Linked DNA regions of Homo sapiens: regions 1 and 3 are each linked to region 2. The links are contacts of gene promoters, found by promoter capture Hi-C in blood cells and fetal thymus (Javierre and others, 2016). All regions are on one chromosome and are shown on one strand. Each heading gives the region's core, a stretch centred on a gene start or on the middle of the fragment in contact. The rest is flanking DNA. Distances are from core to core; before and after follow the strand shown.

The links. The method cuts DNA at HindIII sites, captures the fragments that hold promoters and counts their contacts. A CHiCAGO score of 5 or more calls a contact.
Region 1: a contact is called between a fragment that was not itself captured here and the fragment with the promoter of THAP9 in region 2, in 1 of 17 cell types (monocytes). The highest score is 5.7, in monocytes.
Region 3: a contact is called between a fragment that was not itself captured here and the fragment with the promoter of THAP9 in region 2, in 1 of 17 cell types (activated CD4 T cells). The highest score is 5.3, in activated CD4 T cells.

Annotation. Positions count from the first base shown.
Region 1 is chr4:83,248,074-83,250,773 of GRCh38, forward strand. It overlaps the pseudogene LOC391674. Among named protein-coding and RNA genes, the nearest start is that of COQ2, 35 kb to the right of the region's middle. The HindIII fragment of the contact is 9,826 bases long and covers 1-2,700 here.
Region 2 is chr4:82,899,285-82,901,984 of GRCh38, forward strand. THAP9 (THAP domain containing 9) reads left to right here and starts at 1,451. Exons shown (of 5, transcript NM_024672.6): 1 at 1,451-1,598. The coding sequence starts at 1,519. THAP9-AS1 (THAP9 antisense RNA 1) reads right to left here and starts at 1,632. Exons shown (of 4, transcript NR_034077.1): 1 at 1,050-1,632; 2 at 793-939. It also overlaps a transcript of SEC31A not described here. RefSeq lists enhancers at 896-1,415, 1,031-1,150, 1,416-1,935 and a silencer at 1,461-1,810. The HindIII fragment of the contact is 4,998 bases long and covers 1-2,700 here.
Region 3 is chr4:83,229,915-83,232,614 of GRCh38, forward strand. No RefSeq gene overlaps it. Among named protein-coding and RNA genes, the nearest start is that of COQ2, 54 kb to the right of the region's middle. The HindIII fragment of the contact is 3,285 bases long and covers 1-2,700 here.

The sequences.
Region 1 (2,700 bases), core at 178-2,677, 350 kb after region 2:
GTGGCAATGAGTTACATGCCCTGCCAGTAGTCAGCCAGGGATAATGCTGCTGGTAGAGGTGCGGCAGAAGCAGCAGATGGGCGCAGTCAGCAAGATGCCCTTTGCGCCCATGAACTGCTCTACCCTCATGTGAGGATGGCTCAGGGCAGGACCATCCCCTCCAGAAGTCTTGCCCTAGAGGGCATTCTACAAGGGCTTAGGCAGGAAGCTGAGGCAGAACTCACTGGGGGTGGGCAGCTAAGGGGCAGGTTGGTTTTAGTTGTCTGGTTAAGGGGGCCATACCACCTACTCTCTCCACCCAACCCATGGCCACTCCAGCTCCAGGACCCTGTTTCTGAGCGACAGACCAGCCATTCAATGTCTTCTTTCGGTCCATGATCCCACTGACCCACTCTAGCCTGATGGAGGGAAATGAGCAGCTCTGGTTCTGCTATCTCTCCCACTCTGCCAGGTGCTGGCTGTGGCACAAAGGCTCGCCTTTGTGGGGAGGATAAAACCTGCCCAACCTGCCTCACCTTGGTTATTCGCATTGCAAGGAGTCATTACCATGGGCAATATGGGCTCAGGCCACTCCTTCCAGTTTGCTTTCCATAAATGCAAACTGTCCCTACCGTGAGTCAGGAATGACTCCTGACTCACAGTGGGGCTGCTGTAAACTTGGGGATGGTTGAGGGAACACAGACACAGTCTTCCATGCTCCCCAGGTGGTCCAGCCTGCTGCCCAGAAGCAAACCATGGCAGGCTCACCACCGGTTCTATGCCGCAGGGCTGTTGTAGGACAGGCTGGGCTTTCTCCTGGACTCACCTTACCCTGGGCTGACCTTTGCCCCTGGTATCCAATAATGGCCTCCACTAAATCCTGAAAAAAAAATTAAACACACTTCCTTCTTAAAAATAAATATTCTAAAAGTTCTGAGGAAATTATTATTATTATTATTTTGAGACAGGGTCTCACTGTCACCCAGGCTGGAGTGCAGCAGCACGATCATGGCTCACTGCAGCCTCCACCTCCCAGGCTCAAATGATCCTCCCGCCTCAGCCCTGAAAGTAGCTGGGACTACAGGCATGCACCACCACACCTGGCTAATTTTTGTATTTTTTATAGAGATGGGGGCTCATCATGTTGTCCAGGTTGGTCTTGAATTCCTGGGCTCAAGTGATCCTCCTGCCTCTGCTTCCCAAAGTGCTGGGACTATAGGCATGAGCCACCACACCCAGCCAGAAAGTTATTTTTAACTCAGGTTTATTTACAAAGAAAATGTATGACAGACCTTATGTAGTTCTGGGCCGCGAAGCTGCCTCAATGAACTCTCCATCTATTGAGCTTATGGTAAATGTTCCACCATCTTACTGGAATCCACACTAACGGCCAAAGAATATGTAGACTCGAAAGTATGTATGCTTTTTTTTTTTTTTTTTTGAGACAGAGTTTCACTCTTGTTACCCAGGCTGGAGTGCAATGGCACGATCTCGGCTCACCGCAACCTCCGCCTCCCGGGTTCAAGCGATTCTCGTGCTTCCGCCTCTCAAATAGCTGAGATTATAGGCATGCACCACCACGCCCGGCTAATTTTGTATTTTTAGTAGAGACAGGGTTTCTCCATGTTGGTCAGGCTGGTCTCGAACTCCCGACCTCAGGTGATCCGCCTGCCTCGGCCTCCCAAAGTGCTGGGATTACAGGCGTGAGCCACCGCACCCAGCAAAAGTATGTATGCTTTACAAAATATTACACTTACATTAACACACCTGATTCTATCCTGAAGTAGAGCCAAAAGTCTCTGTAATCTGTTTAATAGATTCAAAATAGTAGGGAGAAAATCTGAGCAAATCATCGTACTGTTTTGTTGTCCTCCCTCCCAAACAATGCAGCAGCTGAGTGGTGGCTGGATTGCCAGATTCTGGGGGTGCTGGTTTGCCCAGTATTTTCATAGTTGAGTGCAGATACTCCCATGCCCTGGCAAACCAGGAGGTTTGCTCACCCTAGCTGGGGGATAAGCAGGCCTTACGTGCCCACCTAGGAAGGTCTGAGTTTATCAGTACAGTAGCATCATGAACAAACAGCCACCAGGTACAGCTTCCTAGAAGCCTCTTTCCTCAGAGAAGAAAAGACAAGATAATCATCCCCCTTAAAATGGCAGATTTGCCACTGGATCCAGTTGCCTTGTGTTTTCCTCATCACTCACACTGTGGTGGGTGTCAGCTGGAGTTCCAGGCCCTCCAGACCAGGGTTGAGGGTTTTTTCACCTTGTACCCCAAGGAGGCAAAATAGAGTAACAGTCAAGAGTGGAGGCTGCGACTCCTGACCACCTACGGTCAAATCGCTGCTCTGCGCCTTCCTTAGGAGTGGTGGCTTTATAATTGTCAACTTGGCTAGACTGAACTACATGTCCCACAGTTCTTCTGCCTGCATGGCTCTGGTTAGGGTGGGCCACCAGAGACATTCTTCAATCAAGACCCTCTGCATCTGTAAATTTATTAAGTCTGAAAACTGGGTAAAAGGCTGTGACTTTTTACTATGATGATGCAAGCTACATTTTTGACTACCCATCCATTTTGTTCCTAGGAACACTATGATCAATTACCACCACAGATCTTTGTGAGCTAAGGCAACTGGTTAGCACTATGTTCCTGCTGCCCTGTATTGTAAATATGTCCACGCTTCTTGTCTTTGGTGGTTAAATGCAGTCACTTTGACTCTGC
Region 2 (2,700 bases), core at 201-2,700:
CACAATTCTGTGCATATACTAAAACCCACTGAATTGTACACTTTAAACCAATTAGTTGTGTGGTATGAGAATTATATCTGAGTAAAACTGTTACAAAAATATAAGGCAACTAATTTTTTCCTTAAAGATAGCTAAAAACAATGTTATTTTTATTCAGCCTCACTCGGGTCTTAATTGGTTGAGCAGGAAAAGGCTCTAACAGCCCAACCAACTTACAGTATTTAAATCCAGTTCTTACTCTCTGCACACACCTTACAGCCAAAAAGTATTTGCCCTGCACATCCCCCAGGGACCAATTTTTCCAAAGTTCCTTGACCATCTATCCTTAGGCCATGTGACTTTTAAGGAACCATAACCAAAAGCTATTAATTCCATTCAGAGAAGATACAAGCATATTATAATGGAAAACTGGTGTGAATAAGTAATACCTTAATATGTATCTTCGGCTGTAATCTGGACAAAGTAAACACAAAGGGGAAAAAGAAGCAATCTTGTTAGGCCTGGATATTTGGAATTATTTTTGTGTGCTATACAAAGAAACGGAAAAGTTGCAAACCCTTCTCTGTTTTCTGTATGCTAAGGATCTCCTTCTCAGAGACAAAAACCCACTGGCCCGTTTCCTTCTCTAAGCAAATTGAAATCTCTTCCTCAAACATAAGAGCTTATAACTAAGACATTGTTCTAAGCTCTATCTCCTGAAAGCTATTCATAATGCCTCATTCCCAACCAAAACCACTTAATTGCCCCTTGTCCCCTGCCCCTATTACTACTGAGGAGCCCCAAGAACCTTACCTTATTTCCTTCATTGTGGCAAAGTGTTTCAGAAAAGGGTTCCTTGAATTAAAAGTCGGCGTATCCTATTTGACTCCTGCTCCTCCGGTATCACATACCTACAGCCAACCATGCCAAGAGCTTCCCCATTATCTCCGCATCGGAGAGCTACAAGATAAAGCGCAAGAACACGACACGCATCTCAGTAAATCATATATTTTTGGCCCGACTCTGTCTTCAACACACCTAAGGCACCGTGTTTTATCCCTCTTCCATACCCTTTCCTCCCGATATCCTCCAGTTTCAGAGACCGCACCCGGAGACCCATTGGCAGGTTCCTGGATTCGCCTCAATTTTGGTCCTGCCTCTCTGCTTCGCATTTTCAGGCTTGGCCTCACAAGAAGGACGATGGCGCCAGATTGTGCCAGAATGGGTGAAAACAGAAGGAAAATAAACCGGTTGCAGCAAAACCCACTATTCCGCCTCCAACGCGGAGGGAGGAGCGGTCAAATGCACGTCTTCAGGCTCAGGCCCTTCCGATTGGCTGCTGGGACACAACGTGGCCTGTCATTGGCTACGGCACCGGCGCAGGGCCTTCGGAGAGGAAGTGTGGAAGTCCCGCGCCTCTAAAGCCCGCCTTTCGTGACAAATAAAGGTCGTAGCCGCAGAGTCAACGGGCGGAGCTAAAGTGGTCGTGATTCATGCTGTCGCGGGAACCCCGAAGGTGGGGCCCCACGTAACAAGAAGATGACCCGAAGTTGCTCCGCAGTGGGCTGCAGCACCCGTGACACCGTGCTCAGCCGGGAGCGCGGCCTCTCCTTCCACCAGTGCGTATGGGAGCAGCCTCGAAGCCTTCGAACTCCCTGCGGGGCCCGGCGGGCCGTGGCGTGGCGTGGGGCGGGGCCGGGCCGCACTGTGGGTCGCGCCGCGTGTGTGACGCGACGTGACGTGCGCAGCGTCGGGGCGTGGGAGCGGAATTGGGGCACTGTGAGAATTGAGATTCTCTCTCTTCCCGCCCAGTGTTTACCTCTGAATAGCCGGTTCTCGCACCGCCTACCGCTTTAAGGAGAGTTACGCGAAAGGAGTCCTCCATTAATTGGATGGTCTTATTATTTGAAGTGAGGAGGCCGAAAGGGAAGGCAGTTTAGGACAACGGTTGAAGTGTGTGTGTGGCGTCTTCCTGAGCACGAGTACAGATCAGTTTTCTCCTGTACTGCCTGACATTGCAAGTTCTTAAGTGCTGTTAGCCGAGCTGTGCAAGGCCGGTCCGATTCTGGCTGGATTTGATCATGGCAGGGAAGTTTCATTTGGCTCGACAGTGGGGAAGAATTTCAGATCAGTCTTATCTGAACTCATATCCATGGTTCAGACTGGTATAGGTCATTCAGTATTCAGGGTACACTAGCAAGTAGAAAAGTGGGTAAAATAGATCCTCACAGACAAAAGGAGCAGATTTATGGAAAGATCAAAAAGAACTTTATGGTTGGAAAGGGGGGGTAGGAAGAGGGTAGTTAGGAATGGCATGGGAAAATGTAAAGGATAGAAAGTGCAAATATAGAGGAGTGGAAAAGTACCTGAGAAACCATTTTAAAAATGTAAATGCCAGGTTAAGGAGTTTAGAGTATGTATGGTAGGCTATGTATAAAATTCATTGATTTTTTTTTTTTTTTGTTTTCTATTTTTTAAATAGGGCTGATTCCTCCACCTAAATTGTTAGCAGTGTGAACCAACTCATTGTGTATGTGAGACCATAATTGATTTGGGATTTTTCTTGTGATAGAGGTAGTTTTAAACTAGGGAGACATGAATTCCAATTTTAATTGAGTATTTACTGATGTCTGTACTTGGCTCTGGGTCTTGGTTTCTTCTTCTGTAAGAGGAATAAAAACCTGCCTTGTAGAATTTTGTAAAACTAAAACGTAAGACTTT
Region 3 (2,700 bases), core at 9-2,508, 330 kb after region 2:
TCCTCTTGACCTCCAGTGGCATTGTTGCATTGCCTCGGAGCTCTGCAGGCTGACTAGGCCTTTTGGACTTTCCAGTTTTATCCAAAGCACACAGGAGGCCCCTACAAAAGAACACTCCCCAGGAACCTTTGTCTCAGGAAATCTTTCCAGCGTCTGCCTCTGAACTACTCTCTGTCCTGTCCTCTACTCCAGACTTTTCCCTTGTGATTAAGTTCTTGTCTCCTTGGACTAGGTCCTTTGTATCAGACAGAAAGCTGCCCTTATGTGGGTGGGGGCATAAGTCTCTCTTTGGTTCCACCCTATAACCCTGGGCCAGCCCTTCTTATTCTCAAGCAGAGTCCTGGATCCTGAGACCCTAGTCTGAACCTGTATCCCATCCCCATAATTTGAGTAGGTGAAGCAAAAATGAATCTGTACCCCATCCCCATAATTTGAGTAGGTGAAGCAAAAATGATCAAATCTGGCCAGGCATGGTGGCTCATCCCTGTTGTTCCAGCACTTTGGGGGGCTGAGGCGGGAGAACTGCTTGAGCCCAGGAGTCTGAGACCAGCCTAGGCAACATAGTGAGACCTTGTTTCCACAAACAAACAAACAACCCAATCTGTGAATGCCAAGATTGCTTAAGAATTAACAAATAGCATTTGAAAAAGATGTAAGAATTGTTAGGAACATAAAAGTTATAGGATACTAATTCCTTTAAAATAAAAATGCAAAGTTTCTTCCTAATTAACTTTTTTCTAACACTTAGGTTTGAGATAATTAGAAGAAAAGTTTACATATAGATTAGCGTCACTATTAGCCAAATAGTGCCTTTATAAAAATCACAGAGAGGCCTTTTTCTCTGGTGGTGGGGTGTGGCATAGAGTCCTAAGCAGGACTCACAGCTTGGCAAGGCAAGAGGAGCACAGACTGGATTTTGGTCCCTACTCACCCGTCAGGTGGTTGCTTTTTGGTAATAAACATCCTGCCCAATCATACGAAGTGGCCTGATATAGATGATATTTATTAACTACATGACCTTGGGCAAACATCTCAGTCCTTAGAACTTTAGATGCCTCATATAACAAGTGAGAGGGGCTGACCTCTGAGGTCCTTTGTATCTACAAATACTATGCTCCACGGCATCAGTAATTTTTTTTTTCTTTTTTTTAACTAAATGAGAGTCTTCACAGAAAGTAGAGGAAGTACCAAATGCTGGCCACCGGAAGGAACCAGTCTGAAAAGTAGAAGTGACAGAAACCCATGGGCAAAAGTGGTCAGGTTATTCTAGAGTTCATGATAGGGAGAGTTGGACATCATTAGATATATATCCGAGACTTTGGTAAGACACATCTAAAAATTTTTCCTAAATAATAAGATTCCCTGGACAGAGACTCCCAAAGGGAAGATGACAAGTGTTTGGGAGAAGTGCTGCAAAATGAAATCTCTATCTTCCAAACAGGATGATGTGGAACAGAAAAAAAGGGGGAGAGTTATTTAAAGAGAGACACACTTGGCCAGGCGTATTGGTTCAGGGCACTTTGGGAGGCCGACACAGGTGGATCACTTGAGGCCAGGAGTTCAAGACCAGTCTGGCCAATATGGTGAAACCCCATCTCTACAAAAACTAAAAAAAAAATAGCTGGATGCTAATGCTCTGAGATGACAGATTTTTGGAACTGTGGATGTAAAGCCCATAGACCTTAACATTAGTGTGTCCAGTCCCATGACATTTCATTAGCTTATGGCTTCTGCTCCAGAGACTCCCACCATTTCCCCATTGATAAGGGAGAGGAAGGAGGAAGTAAGAGATTATTTAAAAACAGTTGTGAAACTACCAAGGTCTGTGGTTGAGAGTTGGTTTTCTAACCAACCTTTGTCTAGTCTAGTCTAACCTTTGACTACAGACATCATATAAGGGACACGGTTGCCTCAGATGCAGAAGATATCAGGAAGGGCTGATTTGTTCCACACTATTTGACCACACTGATTGCAACAGGATGTGGACATGTTTTGCTATGAGTGTGTCCTAAAACATTGGAAAGAAACCCCACATCCTGTCACCCTCCCTGAGGGCAAGGACACTTAGAGTGGAGAAATCTGAGGTTTAACCTGTGCTGGGGATGATGACTGATACAACAAAGGATATAGGACCTCACCTAATGAATTTCAAAGATTGCTGATGTAAGATGCACCAAGAACAAATGTTGGTGTCCTGGTAGTAGAGCAGGGGACCCCTTGTGAGACCTGTCTTTGATCTTGGGAACACAAATCTTACAACATATTTATGACTGTGAAGGCAAAAGAAATCTTCAACGATGAGGTCTGGAAATTCTGAATATTCTATGCAAAGTATTAGAATTTCACAAGAGAGGACTTTGCTCAGAAGAGAAAAATGAACAGGCACCAAGTGGTAATTCACAGAAGTGTCATTCCCATGCTCTTAACTCTCAAGTGTGTTTTGAGATCAGGAAACATGGAGTCCTTATTCTCACTGTGTCCCCTGTTTGAAGACTGATTAATTAAGATGTCATTCATGACATGGTGAGCCATCTTGAGATATTTGAATATCCTGCCACCATGGGAACCCAGACCTACCTCTGGACTAATTATTGGGAGGGGATTGTGGGAAAGAATAATGACTGGGAAATAGAAATCTTTAAGATGCTCTTGAGCAGAACAAATTTCTCCTCCAATAAAGATGTCCATGTGTTTGTATTT